Linked DNA regions of Homo sapiens: region 2 is linked to region 1. The links are contacts of gene promoters, found by promoter capture Hi-C in blood cells and fetal thymus (Javierre and others, 2016). All regions are on one chromosome and are shown on one strand. Each heading gives the region's core, a stretch centred on a gene start or on the middle of the fragment in contact. The rest is flanking DNA. Distances are from core to core; before and after follow the strand shown.

Evidence for each region. The method cuts DNA at HindIII sites, captures the fragments that hold promoters and counts their contacts. A CHiCAGO score of 5 or more calls a contact.
Region 2: a contact is called between the fragment with the promoter of ASH2L here and a fragment that was not itself captured in region 1, in 3 of 17 cell types (erythroblasts, megakaryocytes and naive CD4 T cells). The highest score is 8.7, in erythroblasts.

Annotation. Positions count from the first base shown.
Region 1 is chr8:38,168,355-38,173,079 of GRCh38, reverse strand. LSM1 (LSM1 homolog, mRNA degradation associated) reads left to right here. Exons shown (of 4, transcript NM_014462.3): 2 at 1,047-1,115; 3 at 3,163-3,278. Among named protein-coding and RNA genes, the nearest start is that of LSM1, 5.8 kb to the left of the region's middle. The HindIII fragment of the contact is 448 bases long and covers 3,054-3,501 here.
Region 2 is chr8:38,103,690-38,108,242 of GRCh38, reverse strand. ASH2L (ASH2 like, histone lysine methyltransferase complex subunit) reads right to left here and starts at 2,714. Exons shown (of 16, transcript NM_004674.5): 1 at 2,505-2,714; 2 at 1,799-1,865; 3 at 1,077-1,222. The coding sequence starts at 2,692. RefSeq lists silencers at 2,327-2,526, 2,857-2,946 and an enhancer at 2,617-2,746. The HindIII fragment of the contact is 22,171 bases long and covers 1-4,553 here.

The DNA of each region.
Region 1 (4,725 bases), core at 2,028-4,527:
TTCAGAGAGGCTTTCCCTTGCCACCCTTCCTTCTGTAACCACTTCTCTCCCTTCATCATACTGCCTTGCTAGTTTATTATTCCATTGTCCTAATCACAATAGGTTATTTTCTTATTTATTTGTCCTCCTCCAACATGAATATAAATTCATAAGGTTGGTGACTTTCTAAGTCTCATTCTCTACTGTATGTCTAGACCCCAGAACAGCACATGCCCCCTCAGTAAACATTGAATTTCTGCTCTAGCTTATTATTAGTCTTCATTTTAAATGCCTGAAGCATTGTGTTTTTATTTAAAGCCTTCTATGGTTACAAACAAAATGTGAGATAGAAGCTCATCTTTTGAGGACAAAATAATTCTACAAATAAGATAATAGTCATCTAGATTAAATTTGTCAATTTACAGATATAAAAACTGACATGACATGAGATGGTTTAAGTGTCAAACATAAGGGTCTTTGGCTAGGCGCCATGGTTCACGCCTGTAATCCCAGCACTTTGGGAGGTGGAGGTGGATGGATCATCTGAAGTCAGGAGTTTGAGACCAGCCTAGCTAACATGGTGATACACCATCTCTACTAAAAATATGAAAATTAGCCAGGCATGGTGGCAAACTCCTGTAGTCCCAGCTACTAAGGAGGCCGATGCAGGAGGATCGCTTGAACCTGGGAGGCAGAGGTTGTAGTAAGCCGAGATTGTGCCACTGCACTGCAGCCTGGGTGACAGAGTGAGACTCTGTCTCAAAAAAAAAAAAAAAGAAAAAAGGAAAAAAAAAAAACCAACATAAGGGTCTAGAGCCAGCTAGTCAGGCTTCCTGGTGCCACGCCCTGTCCTTTTCCCACTCTGCCACACTGCTCTGATTCTTTTCACTACTGATGTTATCTAAATCCGCGTTGCTGTGCTGCTTTTTTCAGTTTTCCAATGAACTTGAACTTCACATTAAATGCATTGGCCGAGGAAGTGGTACAGCTTAAACTGTTAATTATTATCCTAAATACTCGCTGAACTTGTCAGTTTTCATTTAAAAGATTTTTTCCTCTCTCCCCAGAAAAGCACTTGGTTCTGCTTCGAGATGGAAGGACACTTATAGGCTTTTTAAGAAGCATTGATCAATTTGGTATGTATTAATTTATGGACATCTCTTATACTCTGGATAATAACAGCAGCCCATTGCATTTTTTGTTATTTAATATTGAAATTTATCTGCAACTTTTTCACGTGTGTGACCTAGTAGGACTGATTTTAGTGAGTACATCATTGTTTTCTATACATTCAGATTAGGTGGTTCAAAGCTTATATATATTTCCAAGCTCGTTTCTAAAACTGGCTTTCAGTAGAATCCCCAGTAGGGGGAGCCAAATGATAGAAATAAACTCAGTCCACCGAAGAGGCTTGTTTTGTTTTGTTTTGTTTTTTGTTTAGACGCGCTCTCGGTCACCCAGGCTGGAGTGCAGTGGCACAATCTTGGCTCACTGCAACCTCCGCCTCTTGGGTTCAAGTGATTCTTGTGCCTCAGCCTCCCAAGTAGCTGAGATTATAGGCTCCAGCCACCACCCCCAGCTAATTTTTGTATTTTTAGTAGAGACGGGGTTTCGCCATGTTGGCCAGGCTGGTTTCAAACTCCTGACCTTAGGTGATCCACCCACCCAGCTGAGCTGGGCAGTTGTTCTGCTCCTCATGGTTTTAGGACAGTCCCTTGGTGTCTAGAAGGTGAGTCAGCTGGTTTGAAGGAGCTTCACTCACATGTCTGGTGCATCAGTGGGGACAGCTGGAAGGCTGGTCTTAGCTCCCATAGTGCTGAGATTATAGGCGCGAGCCATTGTGCCCGGCCCAAGGCTGCTTATTTCTACATTGGCAGGGTAAAATGACTTCAAAGCAGTTCCGGAAGTGAAGGTAATCCCTCCCTAGCCAATGAAAATTGGGTAGAAGGCATTTCCTTTATTTTAAGGACCCCAACATTAAGCTTAATACTTTACATATAGGGATACATTGGAATAAGAGGCCTCTGTCTTTGTTTCGCATCCTGCATTTTTCTTAAGTTAAAAGATTATGTTTCCTTCTGTTTCAAGGAACTTCATGTTCATGCTAACATTTATTGGATATCTGCGAAATCACTGGATTTGAGCATGAGGAAGAAACGTAATTAAAACACTTAAAAGGATTATGGAAGATATGAACATAGATTTCTCCTTTACTTCAAATAGGACAAGTAGTACTAATTGAAAGAGGAAAAATAATTATTGTTAACAAATTGGAGTCCTGATTCTTAAGTCAGATTCATCAGAGTACTTTGAGGGAAGGGTAGTGGCTATTAAGTTGACTTTTAGATTACAAATATAGTTATCTGTCAAGGTGAAAAAATAGGTTTTTGCTGTATCATAACCCATGGATACCTGCGTTGGGTCAAATGAATCCTAATTACTAAAAGAAAGTTGAATCTTCAGCAGATCATCACATACACACCCACACAAAAAGAAAAGCTGTTTCTTTCCAGAAAACAAAAGTTTTGATCTCTGTGGTTGTTTAGGCCCAAGTTTTCCAAGTTCCTTATTCATTTATATTTTCCTATGGTTTTTTTTGGTATTAGCAATTAACTGATAAAGGAATTTATTTCTCTTATTTCTGCTGTCATTCATGTATTAGCCCAACATAATCCCAGACATCTCCTAACTGGTACGTCTTACTCAATGAAATAGGAGAAGATTATTTGAAATTTTAGCCTTCCCCAGAATTAGAAAGCTTGGGGGCCCGGCACTGTGGCTCACGCCTGTAATCCCAGCACTTTGGAAGGCCGAGGTGGGCGGATCACAAGGCCAGGAGTTCAAGACCAGCCTGGCCAATGTGGTGATCCCTGTCTCTGCTAAAAATACAGAATTAGCCGGGAGTGGTGGCAGGCACCTGTAGTCCCAGCTACTCCGGAATCTGAGGCAGGAGAATTGCTTGAACCAGTAGGCAGAGGTTGCAGTGAGCTGAGATGGCGCCACTGCAGTCCAGCCTGGGTGACAGAGCGAGACTCGGTCTCAAAAAATAAATAAATAAAAATAATTAGAAAGCTTGGAAATCATGTTTACCTAAATCTTTTCAAAATAACTGATTATTGAGTTATGGGCCTTTACCCAGTAGTTTAAACTAAATATCTTTGGTTTTTCCCTATACACTTACAGCAAACTTAGTGCTACATCAGACTGTGGAGCGTATTCATGTGGGCAAAAAATACGGTGATATTCCTCGAGGGATTTTTGTGGTCAGAGGAGAAAATGTGGTCCTACTAGGAGAAATAGTAAGTGAAAACTATTAAGCTGCTGTAGATCTTCATATTCATGCTAGTTAGACTTCTTTTTTTGTCTTTTCAAAAGAGAATAAAAATATTCTCCACATTTATCTGGCTTCTCCTAGGCAACTACCAAATTAATTTAGGGAAGCTACAGAGAATACTTTGTTTCAGTGCCTTAACAAATGTGTTCATTAATATATTTGTTTAATAGCAGAAAATTGACAAAGCTTGATTTATATATGCTGGGGAAGGTGTGTCTTACATACGTTGGAATATTTTGCAGTCATTTAAACAATTGGTTACAAGTGGTTTTTCATGGCATAAAGCTAATGCACAGTATTTCAGGGAAGTACATATTGCCTGTACAGTACAATGTGATATCCATATTAGTAAAGGGGGAAAGGGAAAGAGTAGCTATAGGAAAAGCTTTTCCGTTACCTATCCCGAGAATGGAGTTCAGTCTTACTTGGATCCTTAGCTCACAGCCAGGGAGAGGGTATTTTGGTATCTGTGCCAGAAAGACCAGCTGGCAGGTGAAAGGTTAAATCAGATTTTCTGAGGTATTGTTGCTGTAGGTCTTCGTGTGTGCAGACATACACACACACACCCCTACTAGAAGTACTCAGATTTTTTTTTAAAGTATCTTATTTAAAACCTTTGATTTCATCTTGTTATTTCTGATTATTGGGTTTGCAAGGAAAATAAAAATCTCTTCAAGAGTAGTTGAAATTAAGGGTTGAGCCAGCACTGTCTTCTTTTTTCTTACCAAAAACTTTGGTGTTTGCTTAATTTTTAAAGTTTTTAATACTGTTTTCTAAATACCTAGCCATGTCTTAAATCAGTTTGCAGAAATCTTTAGAGTGGTTTGGTTTGTAGCCATTTTTAACAGCCATTTGAGAAAGCAAGGAGATAATTCTGCTAGGGTTGGGTTGGTTCAGAGACCTCATATTGGAAATAGCTAGAAATGACTAATCCAGACTATCAATACTGCCCAAGTGAAATATATGAAGTATATGAAATATATGAATATATGAAATATATGCTGTGAAATATATGAAATAGCTTTTTCTTACTTATAAAATATTTATAAGTAATACTTATAAAAATTTTTCTTATAAAATATTTTTGTAGTTTGTACTTTTAGTTCAGTGTATCATTTCTTGCATGTTTAAGCAGCAGAAATTGTTTTTTGTTTTTTGGGTTTTTTTTTTTTTTTGGGACAGAGTTTTGCTCCTGTTGCCCAGGCTGGAGTGCAATGGCATGATCTCAGCTCACTGCAACTTCCGCCTCCCAGGTTCAAGTGATTCTCCTGCCTCAGCCTCCCGAGTAGCTGGGATTACAGGTGCCCGCAACCAAGCCCAGCTAATTTTTGTATTTTTAGTAGAGACGGGGTTTCACTATGTTGGCCAGGCTGGTCTCGAACTCCTGACCTCAGGCGATCTACCCGCCTCGG
Region 2 (4,553 bases), core at 1,465-3,964, 64 kb after region 1:
TTCTTCCTGATCCTTCAGTATTTTTCTTTCTTTTTAAAAACACTCTTTCCTAAATCACAAGTCACATGTTAATTAAGACATCAGCATTTCTAAAACCCACTTTAACCTTTTAACTAGAAAGTATACAACAGATTATAAAGGAAAGCTGGGTGTGGTGGCTCATGCCAGTAATCCCAACACTTTGGAAGGGTGAGGCAGGAGGATCCCTTGAGCTCAGAAGTTCGAGGCTGCAGAAAGCTGTGATCCTGCCATTGCACTCCAGCCTGGGCAGCAGAGCGAGACCCAGTCGCAAGAAAAAAACAAGAAAACATATATATATGTATATATATATACATATACACACACACACACACACACACACACACACACACACATATATGTATTTCTTCACAATCTCACCCAAGGTGGATTAATTTCACGATAATGCAGCCTTATGTTTAGATAGTCTTTTATAAATGTATTAGCATAATACAAACCATAAAGAACATTACAGAGAGCGAGCAGTACAATTATTCCAACAGACAGTCAGTATAAGGAAAAAAGTCTTTCATTCTCAATCACAATATGATTTTAATTCACTAGAAGAGGTACATGATTGGAAATAGGTTTGCTGAGGAGAGTAGACAATATACCTAAAGGAGTGAGTCAGCAGCAATGAGAAAGGAAAAAAAGGATGGTTCAGGCATAAAGAGCATGGGTCATCTCAAATTTTGGACAACAGGCTTTATCCACATATATCCTTTCTGAAAAATCCAAAACACCAACACAAGGTTTATATTGTTCTAAATTTGTTTATATAACACTTTGTAATTGCATTTTTTTTTGTCTCCAAACCAGGTTGTCAACTCAAAAGGAGGGGCAATACCCACCATTGTATCTACCAGAGCTGTGCCCTCAGTAAGCAGATAACATGCTAAGGGAATTAAAACAACTCCTGATTCAACATCCTACTTGCTGAATAGGGGTTAGGAGACATAGGAAATACTTTGCATTTATTTTGCCCACAAAGTAACTGTTGAGCATGTTCAGATTTATTTTACCGAGCAATTCTCACAAAAACTATGAAAAGTACTCACGAGGTATCTATGCCAAATGTGTCAGCCGTGAACCATTTTGTACAAATCCCACATTGCAGCTCTACCTCACCCAACTGTCGGCCATTCTCTTCATCCACGGAGCCCGCCTGAGTATCCATCACCTCTGATGTATCCCCAGCACCTTCCTGTGTCAGAGCAGTTCGAGACTCAAATCAGTTGACTTGAATGTATTTTACTTTATTTTATTTTTTTAAGAGACGGGGGTCTCCCTATGTTGCCCAGGCTGGTCTCAAGTGATCCTGAGGTCTCAGCCTCCCAAAGTGCTGGGATTACAGGCATGAGCCACCGTGCCTGGCCTGAATGTATTTTTGATTCGCTTAAAAATGTAAAAACAAGGCCGGGCGCGGTGGCTCACGCCTGTAATCCCAACACTCTGGGAGGCTGAGGCGGGAGAATCAACTGAGGTTAGGAGTTCGAGACCAGCCTGGCCAACATGGTGAAACCCCGTCTCTACTAAAAAGACAAAAAAAAGAAGCCAGGTGTGTTGGCAGATGCCTGTAATCCCAGATACTCGGGAGGCTGAGGCAGGAGAATCGCTGGAACCCGGGGGGAGGAGGTTGCAGTGAGCCGAGATCGCGCCACTGCATTCCAGCCTGGGCGACAGAGCAAGGCTCCGTCGCAACAAAAAAAAAAAAAAAAGAAGAAGAAGAAATAACTAAAACAAACCCTATTTTGTCTTGCAAACAACTAAAAATACTTACTAGTGTATCTTTTCCATTAGATGATTCTGTCTCCAAGCCACCGCTTACATCGACCAAGTTTGCCTCCCTATAAGATAATGAAAGCGCTCAAGTAAGAATTCTCAAGACAAACCTCAAAATGCCTATTCCCAAAAATGATGATCAAATTACAGCCGAACTTCATACTCCTGCAGCTTTTTCAGCTAAGCCTGATCTCAGACTGGATGCCCAAGGTACTGTCAGGATACTGAGAAGGTGGACATGTCAGACAGTCGCGGACCCACGGAGCACAGGGAAGCCTAACCGGCCTTTACAGTCAAATCTACCTGGGTTAGAGTTGGTCCTGGGAGAGGTTCAAAGAGAGGCAGCTCTCCCACCCTGTTTTCAGAGTGACCGTTACTTCTTCCAGTCTGGCACTGCAAAGTGGTTTCTTTTCTGGAATATGTGAAGGCCTCCCGTTAAAGTGTGAGCTACCAGCTTCCTGCCAGGGTGCAAGGATCAGAGATAACGACAGGAGCCTCAGCTCCCACCGCCCGTGAAAGGTGCGGAAGGGGCGTTATCCGAGATATGCTTGAGAGGGGACGGGCCAAGCGGCGCAGAGGCAGGGCGAGCCATTGGCGGCGGGGCCTGGGTTCGCAGGGGGCGGGCGGCAGGGCTCCAGGAGCCGCGGGATTCGCGAGGGGCGGGCCTCCCTCCCGCGTCTTCCTCGGGCGGCAGGACCTCTTACCCGCCTTCAGCCTCCCCGGAACTGGGCTCAACTGTCGGAGCAGCAGAGATCCCCTCTCCAGGAGGAGCGGCTGCTCCCGCTGCCACCGGCTTCATCTCCCCCTCTTCTGCCCCTGTTGCATTTGCGACCGCTCCTGGGCCAGGCCCGGCACCCGCTTCCTGGCCAGGTCCTGCTCCTGCCGCCGCCATCACGGCCACCCCTGGACTTCTCGCGAGAATACTCTCTTCTCTCGCGCGCGTTGCTGTGTGACGCTGTAGTCTTCAAACAGAAAAAGCCCGCGGTGCGTCCACCGCCTGCCTGAGGAAGCATAATTCCACGACCGCTTTAAGGCCAGGCGCGCGGGCAGAGGTGGGCCGGCCTCCCGCGCCGGCGGTGGCCGCGGGCCTGGCAGGCTGAAGGTGGAGGAAGCTAGATGGTTAGTGCGGCTCTCTGGAGGACTTCCTTTCGAGTCAGGGACTGACGCGGCGTATTTTCGTGGCTACGACTGGATATTCTGCGCAGAAGAGGGTCCTTGAGAGCGCTGGCCGTGCCGTGCCGCCAAACACTCCTCACCACCGAATGTGGGAAACGTCTTCCTTGGAGTCTAGCACTCCCTGCCCGCCCCGGATGGAATTTGGTTTTCTGCGCAGGGTCGCCCCTTGGAGCCCGTTTCCAAATGATTTTAAGAGGGAAGGGAATCTAGGGAGGCCGATTCCAGGGGCGAGGGTGGAAAACCCAGGCCGGGCAGCCGAGGAGCGGCGTGGGCACTAGAAGCGGCTCGCCGCTTCCTACTGTGAGAGGCGGAAAGCGAAGCCCCGGGGTGTGCCGGGGCACTCGGAATGTAGACAAGTTTGGTGCCCAGCGAAAGGAAGAGGTGTGGACTGAAAGTACGAACTTGGGAAGTCATCAACAGTAGCTGGTGGCTGGCATCAGTGGAGTGAGTTGAGTCTTTCAGAGCCATGGTCTCCAAACTCGAGAATGCAAACCTCTGAGAGTGTTGCGGCCAGGAACGTTTTCAGGACACCAGTGTTTATCCTATATCCTAAAATGTTGCCTAACGATAATACACTCTTCTCCCGCTTTACACAAGAACGGCGCACCCCTCGCCAATCCTCAGTCTAATCTTACTGTGATGTGTCCACCGATAGTGTAGGAATCTCTGGGCCACTGGACGCCATGGGAAATACGTAGATATTGATTTCCCAATTGGTTCTCAATTATTGGTTTTCAACAAAATTGAAGAAAGACCTAACTGAGTTGCCAGGTTACATTTTTAAAATTGATGATAAATACTTAAATCAGGGGTTGGTACTCCAAAGAGAAGCAGGATGCTTGATCTAAGTATCTCCTCCCAAATACGTAGTATTGTAGCAGTTTTAACATATGGTCGCAGAATTTTGTGTTTTCTTGTTGTTGTTTGTTTGAGACAGAGTCTCGCTCTGTCGCCCAGGCTGGAGCGCAGTGGCCCGATCACGGCTCACTGCAACCTCCACCCCAGGTTCAAGCGATTCTCCTACCTCAGCCTCCCGAGTAGCTGAGATTACAGGTATCTGTCACCACGCCCGGCTAATTTTTGTTAGTAGAGGCGGGGTTTCACCATGTTGGCCAGGCTGGTGTCGATCTCCTGACCTCAAGTGATCCACCCACCTGGGCCTCCCAAAGTGCTGGGATTACAGGTGTGAGCCACCGCGCACGGCTTTTTTTTTTTTTTTTTGAAACGGAGTCTCGGTTTGTCGCCCAGGCTGAGTGCAGTAGCGCGATCTCAGCTCACTGCAACCTCCACCTCGCGGTTTCGGGTTCAAGCGATTCTCTTGCCTCAGCCTCCCGAGTTGCTGGGATTACAGGCACGCGCCATGACGCCTGGCTAATTTTTGTATCTTTAGTAGAGACGGGGTTTCACCTGTGTGTTTTTTTTTTTTTTTTCTGAGACAGAGTCTCGCACTGTCGCTCAGGCTGGAGTGCAGCAGTGGCGGCATCATACCTCACTGCCGCCTCAAGTTCCCCGGGTAAAGCAATCCTCCTGCCTTAGCCTCCTGAGTAGCAGGGACTATAGGCACGAGCCACCACGCC